Linked DNA regions of Homo sapiens: region 1 is linked to region 2. Evidence: promoter capture Hi-C in human tissues and cell types (Jung and others, 2019). All regions are on one chromosome and are shown on one strand. Each heading gives the region's core, a stretch centred on a gene start or on the middle of the fragment in contact. The rest is flanking DNA. Distances are from core to core; before and after follow the strand shown. Region 1 has its middle 290 kb from the start of LINC02535. Region 2 holds the start of TBX18 (T-box transcription factor 18).

The links. Contacts are between HindIII fragments. The study calls those that stand out against the background at their distance.
Region 1: a contact is called between a fragment that was not itself captured here and the fragment with the promoter of TBX18 in region 2, in 2 of the 25 tissues and cell types used here (H1 embryonic stem cells and mesendoderm cells).

The regions. Positions count from the first base shown.
Region 1 is chr6:85,109,061-85,115,600 of GRCh38, reverse strand. No RefSeq gene overlaps it. Among named protein-coding and RNA genes, the nearest start is that of LINC02535, 290 kb to the left of the region's middle. The HindIII fragment of the contact is 3,254 bases long and covers 1,162-4,415 here.
Region 2 is chr6:84,761,207-84,767,500 of GRCh38, reverse strand. It overlaps TBX18 (T-box transcription factor 18), which reads left to right and starts at 2,903. Exons shown (of 8, transcript NM_001080508.3): 1 at 2,903-3,611; 2 at 4,753-4,957. The coding sequence starts at 3,320. LOC124901353 (a long non-coding RNA gene) reads right to left here and starts at 5,160. Exons shown (of 2, transcript XR_007059666.1): 1 at 5,015-5,160. RefSeq lists enhancers at 2,696-2,990, 3,002-3,585, 3,586-4,170. The HindIII fragment of the contact is 5,576 bases long and covers 1-5,239 here.

The sequences.
Region 1 (6,540 bases), core at 1,539-4,038, 350 kb before region 2:
GCCAAACTGTCGCCTCTGACCTTGTTTTATATTTCCAATGTGCATTTTATTAACTCCTTTTTCATATGGTACATGTGGAGCCTGCCACCAGATGAAAAGGAGGCACATTTCACAATTCTGATGGAAACAGCAGCTCCCTAGGAACAATTTTTGTAACAAATATATCTTTCGTGTCGATCCAAGTTTCATTTGGGTAAATGAGCTCAATGCATACGTGATAAAAATGCATTGAAGTTGTGCAAATCAATTAATTAAAAAAAGATACAAATAAACCTACCATTAACCATGCATTTGCAGCCTTCTTAGAAGTTATTTTGACCAGTAGATAATTGAAGAGCACTAAATGGATATATTCTGTTGTCATGGTCATGGTGGAACTTTAACTTTTATTCTTCAACTTGGCAATTGACTACGGCTGAATTAGGAAGAAACTGGAGTACTGTATAGCCTTAAAAAACTGAGCCAAATAAAAATTCATCTTGCATACACTTTCATTGATTTCTAACAGCCCTGTTCTTTATAGAACAACAGCCGGGAAAATCATTTCTGTCTATGGAGGAATGATATACTGCCATTAAAAAAAAAAAGTTAGCCACCCCCCGGCGCCCCCGCCCCCGCCCCCGCCCCACTTTCTTCCCCTAGGACTGTGTGCCTGTGTGCAGGGGTGTCTACCTAATTGGCCACAAGAGGGAATTAAACTAAATAAAATCACTATCCACGGGGGGCCTCTAAATATGCCTTTTTAATTTGAAAATTTTTGTGGGTTATAGTGTAATTCAAGCTTTTCAAGGTTTATTAGTGCATAGTTGTTCACAGGGCTCACAGAGCTCAAGACTCCAAGTCTGATACACTCTCCGCTGCTAACACAGAAAGCCAAAGTGCCTTTCATCTGCCGAACGCATAAAGTGACACAACTCCTTAAAAAAAACTCCCTCAAATAAAATGCATATTAATAAAAGTGACTGAAGGGAGTTGAAGTTGGTAATTTGTGCTGCTGACTTGACACGGTGTTCGTCATTGCCTGTCTGAGGAACTATGACAATTCATTACCTTTGCAGGGAACGCACCGTGCTGATGATAAAGACGTTGCTCTCAGATACGCGTAAATGCCCGTGACCTGACGCGTTTGCTGTGGTCCGCGTCAAAACACGCCGCTCTGTGTAATTAATTGCTGCGAGAGGAAGCGGACCAATGGCGCCTTCTGCTGTGAAACTGTTAATGGAGAACTTATGGAGAGAAAGTCAAGTCCTCCTATCCAAATTGGAATGTGAAAGAAATCTGTTGGAAGGTGATGACAGAAATGAAGTAAAACAGTTGTTTCCTGATCCGCGTGCCAGGTGTGTCACATACTGTGATAAATAAGATCTGCGTCTTACACTCCAGAAATTGGGGAATATTACAAGCGTTTATTATAGTAAGGTACAAAAAACGCACTTGAAATGCTTTGTTTCTCCTGGCACCAAACAGTGAGCAGTTATTGCACAATGCCTGGAGCTGCTAATTCCTTTGTTTAGGTTTAAGCCAACACGGCCTATTAAAAGCTTAAATTCAATTTTATTGTTAAGGTATTTATTAACTGATTATGAAAAGACATTAAAAGACTCATAATTAAACTACTAAGTTGTTCCTTACCTTGGTTAATTCTCTCCTTTTCTTACACAATAGAAAATATCCTTGTGTTTTGAGGTAACTGTTCACTCCCTTGACATTATTTGCTTCAGCTCTCACCTCTGCGCCAGCCAGAGCCTTAAATTAAAGATATCTGTGAAAGCCAGTAGGTTATGGTTACAAGCATTTCCCCATAGCTACGGTGTGTGCAGTGCTTATGTTTAACTTTAAGACCATTGCCATGTTTCACCCGAGGAGGGAATGTGAATGATTCGTGGCAACAATTTTTAAATTGCCTTACTGATGTTTTACTTGTTAAAAGTCTGTTGCCAAATGGTACATGTGTACGTGTGGGCACATACACAAGCCAGGGCTTCACCAGGGTACCCACCTCTGTCTTCTTCATGGAATGATCTTAGTCTTGCTAAAATGATAATTCCACTGAAATTACTTTTCTTTCTTATTTTTTTAAAGCCTCAAAGTATTTTAATGTACTGTATTTCATTTACCAATTGTTTTATCTAAAAACTGCAAAAGATATATGACATTTTCTTACTAAGAACAAAAGAAAAATTTTATGAAAAATTATTGGAAATCCTGACTATACATTATAATCTTTTTGACTATATAAAAATCTAAATTTATTTTATGTGTATATATATATATATATATATATATATATATATATATATATACAATATTTTGATAATGGAACTTATGCATTTAAACTGTTTACTAAGTTTGTCAATAGCAATGATTACTCCTTGAATAAACTTCATTGATTGCAATACCACCAGTAGTCAAAGCGGGATTTAAAACTTCAAAAAAAAAGGGGGAATTGCAGTAACTTTGAAAACACAAGATATTTAGTTACTGTTGAATTATATATTTTATTAAAATCTTCCATTTCAGAGCCATATCCCCCTGCTACTGTGCAGTCATTTAAAATTGGTTTGAAAGTTGAGGAAGCCTAATTCTTAAAGGGGCCCCCTTACGCATATTAAGGAAGTTAAACACAACACTTAAGTTAGAATTGCCGGCATTATGAGTCAAAAAATTATAAAATGCCAACTACAGCTGTTTCTCTTAAAGGTATCAACTATAATTTTTGTAGTTTATGCATATTATCACAAATTTATAGACAGTACTGAAATTTTGAAGGAGATCTCAACTTCTTTTAAAAAATTATATGTGTGGGGCGAGTTTGAGATAATTGAAAACTTGATATTTAACTTTTTAAAAGTGCTGAGTCACTGCTAACTTCCAAAATTTAAAATTAATGCTCACTAAAACTAATATCTTTACCCTGCACAGCAGACTCAGTTTAAAGTTATCAAGATGAGAATTTCCTGTTTGCCATTTAAAGTTGTCTTATTTCATGAAAACATTACTTGAGAAACAAGTAACTATAAGCTTTTCTTTTTAAGTTGTTTCTCATAATCAATAATATTTTAAAACATAATTAATATTTTAGATGATATTCTTTGTGCAGCATTTGTTCAGAAAAGGTTAAAATTATTTTATCTAAATTATTTTTGTTTTAATCAATCATTTTCCTTTCGTTCATTAAAGAACCTATAAAAGTGGGATTTTGTAGTTACTTGCATCTTGAAAATGTAACATTAGCCTGTTTATTTCTCAGTCTTTCAGTAGGGAAGATTTCATTCGTTCATTCAGTCGCTGCTTCCACAGTATTGGTTATTTATAATGGGTACTTCCAAATCCTGCAGACTTACAATAGTGAAAACACAGTTCTTGTCCTTGAAAATCTTGGCTGAACCGAGATTTGGATATAAAAAAAGGACTTGGGAGAAAATATGGCCCAATTACCTATTTTATTTCTGCAAACTTAGAGAGGGAATCCAGAAGAAAATAATCTATAAATAATTCAGACTTGGCTGTGGATAAAACCATCTACCAAACTTTTTAGTTTCTCATTCCACTAATTGGTCTCTGGGCCTCCCTTTTGTGCTTTTGTCTACCGTCCTTTCTCCAACTCTCACACCACATGAATCACGTTCAATGCATCCACAGCCCGCAACCCTTCTATAATTGTTCCTGAAGTCCAACCAGTGTCAAACCACAGCCTCTCTGCGTCTAGATGGTTTGCTTTGGCCAGAAGAAAACATAATTCCCACAAAGAGATGTATCTATTTCTGTGACCTCCCCTACTGAGTCTGTGTTGTGTTCCATGCTTAAAGAAGGCTTTTGGACAAAATAGGCAGCTGAAGAACAGCTCCCACATCCCTTCAGAAAGGCCCCCCCATCCCCGGCCCTGGGGGTTTAATGGGAAGAATGATGCAACCTAGAGGAGCTGTCTTTTTACAAGAGCACCTCCCCCTCACTGCCCCAAGCCAACAGTATTTGCCAGGCAAATATTATCCAGTGCCGGGCCTCAGCCAGCCTACCTCCCACTGCCTGAATCAAGGCCTGTTGGCAGCTACAAAAGTGAGGTGTCGCTGACTGATGCATAATTATGGTGGACAGAAAAATGTAGACGTGTTAGCAAAGTCAATATTATGGAGACCCCTGTCTTCCCAAATATTGTAAGTAAAAGATATTTCTAGGGTATAGCCAATTACATTCTCTATTTTTACGACCAGTCACAAATGTATTTTTTATTAGCTGGTGTGTTCAATGTTTTGAATGCATAGCCCTTATTTCAATCTCATTTTAGTTTGTAGTAAGTGCAAAAAGATTTTTGCTGACTTGAAATAGTGAAGCTGCTCTCTTTTAACTGAACTTCAGGGCCTGTCACCCTGAGAGTTTATTCCACAGCCTTCTGCGACTCTTGCCTGTAAATTAGTCTGTGAAGTGGTGTTTATTGCTGAATGGGGAGGTTAAGACAGCCTAATTATATGTTTGTGCAGGAGAAAACACCATGCCCCACCGTGAGCAATTATATTGTCCCCTTTTTATAGTTTAATCTAGCTTCAGCTAAGAAGAATGAGGAGATACCCTGTCTTCACCAGCAACTTAGCTACCACACATTTTCAGTGTTAATTAGAAATTTTGTTCAATGAAAGAGTGACTTCTTAGCATAACTCAGCCTTCAGCCAATCAGAGGGCATCTGGTAAGGCAACTTGAGGTGTCTTTGTAGATTAGATCTCTAATTCCACCCACGAGGCAACACATGGGTGGGACTCTTGCCACACTCTCAAGTTTGTTTCATGGTGCAATTTTCCTTTTTTATACATTTAAAGCAGTGAATGTTCTATATGGCAGGAGAGAGACTATTAGGATACTGGGGCTCTGTGTAGATTTTTTTTTTTTGGAAATAAAAATCTTGCTTTTCCTAAGGGATTTTTTCTTATGTTAAGAAGGATGTAGTGAATAAAAACCAGAACAAGATCAACAGGTCAATGTCTTTAAAGTTGGTCATAAAATGTATCACAACAAAGAGCCTGTAGGATAGGAATTGCATGCTGAAATACCTCTGTCTTTGTTCTTGGACACTTCTCTGTCACAAGGGCAGAATACTTCTGTTTCTTTTCAAAAGCATTTGGCTCATATTTTTCATACACAGGCACATGCTGAAGTCTTACGATGCATAGGTTCAATTTCCTCTTAGGAAAATAAAAGATGCCCTTCATGTCTTCTCGCACTCAACTAGAAATGCTCATTGTCATTGAAACGAGCTGAGGGAAGAACCAGTTCTCTAGGAAACAGCATCTCAGTCTGGTCCAATCTGCCTGATGTGATGGGTTGCCTCTAGGGAAATAGACTTCTCGTTATTAGCAAATTTCCAAGCTATCACTCAGTTTCCCTTCTCCTTATCTCATTTCTATGAGTTTTGTTTCTAGAATGATATAATATCTCTCTTCCCAACCCCTTCGAGCTCTCAACTTTCTTTGCCTCTTAAGACTTAAGCAAGATCTCCTTTCCCCATTGGCTAGCTCTTCTGGGCTTTTTATTAGCTTAATTTAGTTTCTACCTTTCTTTTGTAAGGCAAGTTATTCAAACACTGTGCTTGAGATACAGACATAAAAATCTGGGAGCAGTATGGAAAGGCAATTTAATTCTTTCCCACTTATTTTAAAAACTAAAACCTTCCCACCATGTTGTAGAACAGCTAAACACTTTAGGGAAATCTTTAATAAGTATATTCCGTGTTTCTCTTCTTCTCTGCTTATCAAAAGAAAGTGATTTGGGTGGATGGAAGCTGGCAGAGCTGTTTGTAGTTTCTTCATTATTTTAAGCTTCTTTAAAAAAAATTATCAAAAGACTATATACTTATCCCAGTGAAATCATATGAGGCTCCCCAAACACTCTCCTCCTATTCTATGAAATGCCATTGTCTTTTTTTTTTTTTTTTGCTGGAAGCACTAATCTTTTGGCTGGCCTATCAGATTGTAAGCTCATTTATTCAGCAATTATGTGTTGAACACCTTCTGTGTGCCAGGCTTTATTCACATAAATGACATGTGCCATGCTGCTGGTTTCTTAGGCTTCTTCCTCCTCTGCTAGAGCACATTACTGTTTTTTGACATATTAATTTTTTTCAATTACCAATTTCAAATTTCTTTGAAGCAAATAGTTTTAATCTCATGAAGTGGTATTCTATTTTAACCTATCACTTCCAGAGTGAGAAAGTGAAGGGGTGACTTTACATTGACTTCCCAAGGGGTGTGTTGATATTATTAAGGAATCTGATAAATGGTGATCTGCTGGGTGCTGGGGTGGAGGGGCAGCTCTGTGACAATACTCTACACAGAGGTCTATGTAACACTTTAAGCCATGACTGCCTTTAACATACATTCTGCTTTAATTTAGCTTTCCCTTTATTTCAGGGAGCCACAGGAAGATGACAGGAGAAACATTTTTAATGATAATCTATTTTCTGATCAATAAATTTGAAAGGAGCCCTTTTGAGTGTTAGAACTCAAAATTTAGTCTGGCTGAAGAAAATACAGGTTTAATCTCACACTATA
Region 2 (6,294 bases), core at 1,654-4,153:
CGCTTTCTTTGCTCTCTTGACTTGCAAAGTGCGAGGGCCTGGCGCTCTCCTCGAAAGGGCATGCCGCGCTGTTGGTAAAAGGCCTTGCTAGGACGAGGCTTTGCTGTCACTCGTCACTCTCAAGGCTGCCACTCCGCCCAGCCAACTCGGAATGTCTTTCCCTCCCATGCCCAAGAGAGATTCGACGCCCCTTCTCCAGGAGCCGAGGTTGGAGTGGGCTGCAGTCTGTGACACACTGCCCCTCGGGACCTGGGTTAGCTGGTCCTGCCCAATCCAGTAGCCTGAGCCGAACTTAACGCAAGTTGGAGGCGGCGGCAGCAGTGGTGCGGCTCTACTGCTATGATTCTCCTTAGCCAGTAGCAGGACTAGGGGGCAAACGCCTTGTCCTGTCCTCGGCGCCCTACTCACACTTGAATTATTTCTAAGGGCCACGTTCTAGAAACATCGTGGATGTAGACGAGGCTCTGCTTTCCAGCCTTTCGGCAATGCGGACACCAGTCCCCGGGTTTCCCCGCCTGCTGGGGTCTGCTGCCCAGGGTGAAGGCGAAAGACATAAAGAAATGGCAGAGGAAAAGAAGAGGGCGTGAGGCTGTATGATCCCGAGAGCGCCTTGCAGGCCTGTGTATCCCTTTCTAAATCAGTTTGAGCTGCAGGACATATACAGGGAGAACTCCTTTGCGGAACAGGCTTTGCGTCAGCAAACAGTGTTTGTCCCTGGCAGTTTCTCCCAGGGTAGGGGCTCCCACTACCCCTGCTGAGCCCCAGCAGGCCCGAGGGCTCCGACGACTACACCCCTGGGCAGCAGCAGAGTCTCCAAAGCTGTAAGGACCGCTCGGAGAAGCACCGGGTAGCTCCCTTCTTGGGGTCCCCGAGAGCCTGGGATTGGGGCGGGGCACCTCAGCTGAACGGAACTTCTTCTGGCGTCTACTCCAGCTAAGTTAGCTCCCGCCTTGTCCCACTCCCACTCCCGGCCCAAACTCTCTAGGCGGCCTCTTAGCTCTCCCTGCCGGCGCCTGCCTTCGGCTAAGCTTCAGAAATGGGATTTGCGCTTCTTTTTAATGATGTAATACCGGCCTAGGGTACCCCGGAGCTTGGAGACCCACTAGGGACCACACAGCTCTAAACCGGTCGCAAAGCCTTCATTTTGTAAAATGCAAAACACCTCCTCCCAACTGAGTTTGTTTCTCAGGCGTCTAAAAGAGGCTTCCTCCGCAAGGATATTACAAAATCATTTTTGACCTCAAGGCTGCCAGGTTTGGCTGGGCGGCTTGCTCGTGCCTCTGCTCATCGCCTGCCAGGTTCCTACTCCCGCTGTGGTGTCCGGCCTCCAGGAACCGCGCGTTCTCTTCTACAATAAAAGGATCAGTCTCAGTGGCGGATCTACCCCCAAATGCTACTCTACTGAAAGTTTACAGAGAAGTCAGAGATAAAAGGGCAGCCAACGGTTGCGGAGATTGAATTAAACGAGGGACGAGGGAGAGGAAAAAATTCCTTTGTCATATATATATATATATATATACACACACACACATATGGAGACAGAGAGAGAGACAGAGACGGAGTCTTGCTGCGTCGCCAGGCTGGAGTACAGTAGCGCGATCTGGGCTCACTGCAACCTCCGCCTCCCGAGTTCAAGCGATTCTCCTGCCTCAGCCTCCCGAGTAGCTGGGACTACAGGCGTGCACCACCACGCCCAGCTACTATTTGTATTTATTTATTTATTTAGTAGAGACGGGGGTTTCACCATGTTGGCCAGGATGGTCTCGATCTCTTGACCTCGTGATCCGCCCGCGTAGGCCTCTCAAAGTGCTGGGAATACAGGCGTGAGCCACCGCGCCCGGCCTGCCGTGTATTTTATACAAAAGATGGAGTAATATGCACGATTAATTTTATTCCACAAGAGATTTGCTCTATTTATACCAAACATATATATATATATTTGTTAATCCTAACAAAAAGTCGAGTTGAAACTACAAAACAAATTGTACAAATATATATGTTTGGTGTCATTTAATTAAAAAGCACTGATTTTATTAAATTTGTTTTAAATACATCAATGGACTCCTTAAAAGCCTGAAGTAACGATTGTAAATTGTCAACAGTAGGACAAATATAAACTTACTTAAATCACAGAGAAGTTTTTCAAATGGGGAATTTTATTGCGTCTTCATACTTATTTCATTTTGCGAAGTTTTAAGGGGTTTTAAAGTTGTCCATATCGTTAAAGACGTACAGAATGAAAATCCCATGACCTACGTTTTAAAATAACTACCACTCTTTGAAAGAAAAGGTGGGCTGCGGAAAGGGCGTGCTTTTTCTGACATTTATATGACGGACTGAGCGTTAACGTAACATTTTGCACTCCTAAAGGATTTACATATTTCTTAACCTGGTATCCCCTAAGAAAAAAATCACGGAGTAAAGTTTAAATAAGCCTAAGCCATATCTGGCGCAGACTGAGTGCAGGAACATTTAAATGAGAAAGGAGGGGCCTGCGAATTCTTCCCAGCTTCCCAATATTCTGAGTTGTAGCAACATTAAGCGATACGGAAGTGGGACGGCAATTTACGGAACCTTGAAAGATTCCTGATTTTCTAACTTGTTGAACGTCTAGTTTAAAGCCGGGAACTTCCGCCTTTCCAGGTCCTGGTGAGGAAAGCTGGAGACTACGGGGCTGGACTCAGCTACGGACGTCAGAGAGACAGAGTTCAGCGTCCGTGTGGCTGGCACATCCAAGCCAGACAGCGGCGCTTTTCACTCCTGGTTTTTCGCTACCTTGTAAGGAAGTGGGCGCGGGCTGCGCGGAGTCGGCGCCTCCTGATTGGCCGGCCGTCTGGGTGATGGACAGGGACCCGGGCTCCGCCCCCGCCGCTTTATTGACACTAATGAGCAAGTTCTTCCCACCGCTCTCCTGCCTGGAAGTGCTGACAGATCAAGGCAACAAATTTCAATTACAATCCCTAATTTGTGTCCACAGAGTGTTTTTTACCCATGTTAGTCCTCTCTGGCGCATCAGTTGAGGCAGACCTCGGAGCAGCAGGAGGAGGTGGAAGGGGTGGGAGCAAAGGAGTGCATCAGTGAGAGAGCGCGCGAGAGAGACCCAGGAAAGGAGACTTGGCCGGCGCGTCGCCGGTTCCTGGATCCCAACACAAGCGAGAAAGCGGAAACGCCAAATCTGTTTTTTGCCCGCGGTGGGGAAGGGGGCAGATCTCGGGAGGCCCCGAGAGCCTTTTAGTTTTTGGTGGGGGAAGAGCGAGAGCGCGCGTGTGCCCGCGTGAGTGTATATGAGAGAGGGGCGGGCGGGCGCGGGGCGGGGGGGATGGCCGAGAAGCGAAGGGGCTCGCCGTGCAGCATGCTAAGCCTCAAGGCGCACGCTTTCTCGGTGGAGGCGCTGATCGGCGCCGAGAAGCAGCAACAGCTTCAGAAGAAGCGGCGAAAACTGGGCGCCGAAGAGGCGGCGGGGGCCGTGGACGACGGAGGCTGCAGCCGCGGCGGCGGCGCGGGCGAAAAGGGTTCTTCTGAGGGAGACGAAGGCGCTGCGCTCCCGCCGCCGGCTGGGGCGACGTCTGGGCCGGCTCGGAGTGGCGCAGACCTGGAGCGCGGAGCCGCGGGTGAGTGGGCCCCTTCCTGCCTATAACTTCTCTCCGGCGCGAACCTGAACTTCTGCGAGTCTGTGGGTGTGCGTGCGCGCCGCGTCCCTACATGGCCAAGGCCACTCAGCCACTAGCGCATTGGCCGTGTCAGTCGCAAAGCTCGCCGCGCAACCTGGTCACCCTCCAGACGGTTCAGATACTGCTTCCAGGCTCGCCTCGCGGGCGGCCGCCGCCCACTCGGCGACCCGCGCCTTCGGCCGCGGCTGTTTGCTGCGCCTAGCGGTGCAGCTCTGTGCTTCCTGCATCTGCCTCCCTTGGGGTTCCAGCCAATGGGTGCTCTTTTTTGTTTCCTAACTTTTAAAAGCACAGGGCGGGGAGGAGGGGAGCGACGGCATACCCCACCCTGAAACCGGAACGAATGCCCTAAACCGTTTGTGCAAACCAGGAAGAGGGCGGCATATTTGGAAACTTGGTTTCCCGAAGGGTAGTTGAGCGGTTCCCTTCCCTTCTCCTCTTGATTTCTCTGCCAAGGCCGACGGCGACCGCGGGCTTGCTTTTCACACTTTTCTCTGCTGGGCTGGAAGCGCAGGGCGCCGGGAGTTTGGCGAAAGCGGGGTCTGAAGAGCCTTCTAGAAGATGCCTCCGGCCCGGCCCAAAAGAAGGCCCAAAGCGAGGCGCCGCAGACGCTTATGGCTTAAGGAGGCCCAGGCTCTTGGGACCAGAGTCCGGGCGCTTTTGCTGCTTGCGCTTCGAGGCGCAGGTTGCGTCGGAGTTTGCACTGGGGACTCTGGACCCGGGAGCTCCTCTGACTCCGTCGGGCAAGCGTCCCAGACCCCGGCGGCGGCGTGAAGCCTTTTCTGCTGGGGCCTTGGCCCTGCGGAGGCCCAGCGGGTGGGGTGGACGCTGCCCGCGCGCCTCTCCCGGGCTTGGGACTTGGGGACCAAGCAGGCCACACTGGAGCTCTGAATGCGCCCCTTCGACAGGCAGAATGTGGGTGTCTATCGACTGGCTTGTTCTTTAGGAGGACCTGATGGCACCAAAGCTTCCCCTTTTCTCCCGGTCATTTTCCTCTTCTCAGCCACCAGGTGGGCCCGTCTCCGCGGCTGGCTTCCCCTCTGTTTCCCTCACCAGTTCCCTTTCTCTGTCCTTTGCTGTCCAGGCGGCTGTGAGGACGGCTTCCAGCAGGGAGCTTCCCCTCTGGCGTCACCGGGAGGCTCCCCCAAGGGGTCTCCGGCGCGCTCCCTGGCCCGGCCCGGGACCCCTCTGCCCTCGCCGCAGGCCCCGCGGGTGGATCTGCAGGGAGCCGAGCTCTGGAAGCGCTTTCATGAGATAGGCACTGAGATGATCATCACCAAGGCCGGCAGGTAATGGGCAAGCTGGCGTGGACGCCCCTCCCTACCCCAGACCCTGTCTTCACTCACCTCTAGCTCAATCAGGAAGAAGGGCCTGCAGCTCGGTGGGGGTTCTGGATAGCATTTTCGGTCAAACGGGACCAGGCCCCAGACCGTGGTTCACTTTGGAGGCTAGCTTTGGCTACCCACCACTAGTGCAGTCGGTGCACAGTCCAACTGCCCTCTGGTTGAATGCCAGGGAGAAAATTACTGTCGCCGCTGATGCCACAGCTGTCGCGGTTGATGTTCTGCGTTCAGGGCGGTTATAAATTTGAGGTCATATTTACCCTTGTCCAGGTATTTATTTAGGCTCTAGTTGTCAGTTCTGGAACTAGGAAACATTCTTTTTTTTTTCCTTTCTCTTTTATTTTTAAACAGCAGTTTACTCCAGTAAACTATGATTTGCTTTTTCAGATTTGAAACTCCCAGGCAGATTGGTTCTTTATCAGAAGATATCCTGGCAATTTGATAAGATGATCTGTCCTGCTATTTCATATTAGACTAGGAGGAAAAGTCACTGGACTCACCCACAATACATGTTTAATCATGTATAGGTGCAAGAATAATTACCCTGATTTTTAAAAAGCATCCTGTTTATAGATTTAGAGTACCTGGTTATTTATTTATTTATTTTTGTCCTAAATGGAATCCAACACAGCCTGAATTTGCTGAGGAATACTTAAAAATTTTTTATAAAAAGGTACATCGGTTTTTTAAAAAGTGTGAAATTTTCCCATCCATTGGTTAGTAAAATAAATGGATTTGTTGGGCAGATCATATTAATTTGAGGTAGGCACATGAATATTTGCATTTTAAAGTTTTCAGTTTATTTAGTGCAGTGAAATCTATGAATAATAAGCTTCCTTAAACGGAACTTTAGAAAGCACACACAACTCTTTCAGGGAGTACACATGGTAAAAACCTGGATAGCATAAAAAGTATCCAAACTTATTAGAAATTACAAAAAAACATATTTTATTGAATCCATATGCTACCTTCTACATTTTCACAGAGCTTTTATTAATGATCCAAATTCAGTCTTCACCAACACAAAGCAATAGTTGTCTTATAAAGGATGTAGTTAAAGACCTTTACTCTTTATCTTACAGGTGCACTGAAATAATACTAAAACAGCCAGCGTATTAAACTGTTCCCATACCTAGTTAGGAGTAATAGACTTTATTTTTTTCTAGGAGTAGTCTTTCATGGTATTTTTGTTATAGAAAAAAATTTGGTAAATAACTACTAAAATTTCTGTTATAAGGTTAAATTAACAAAAATTAGATTTCCTTGGAAGGGACTTAAACGTA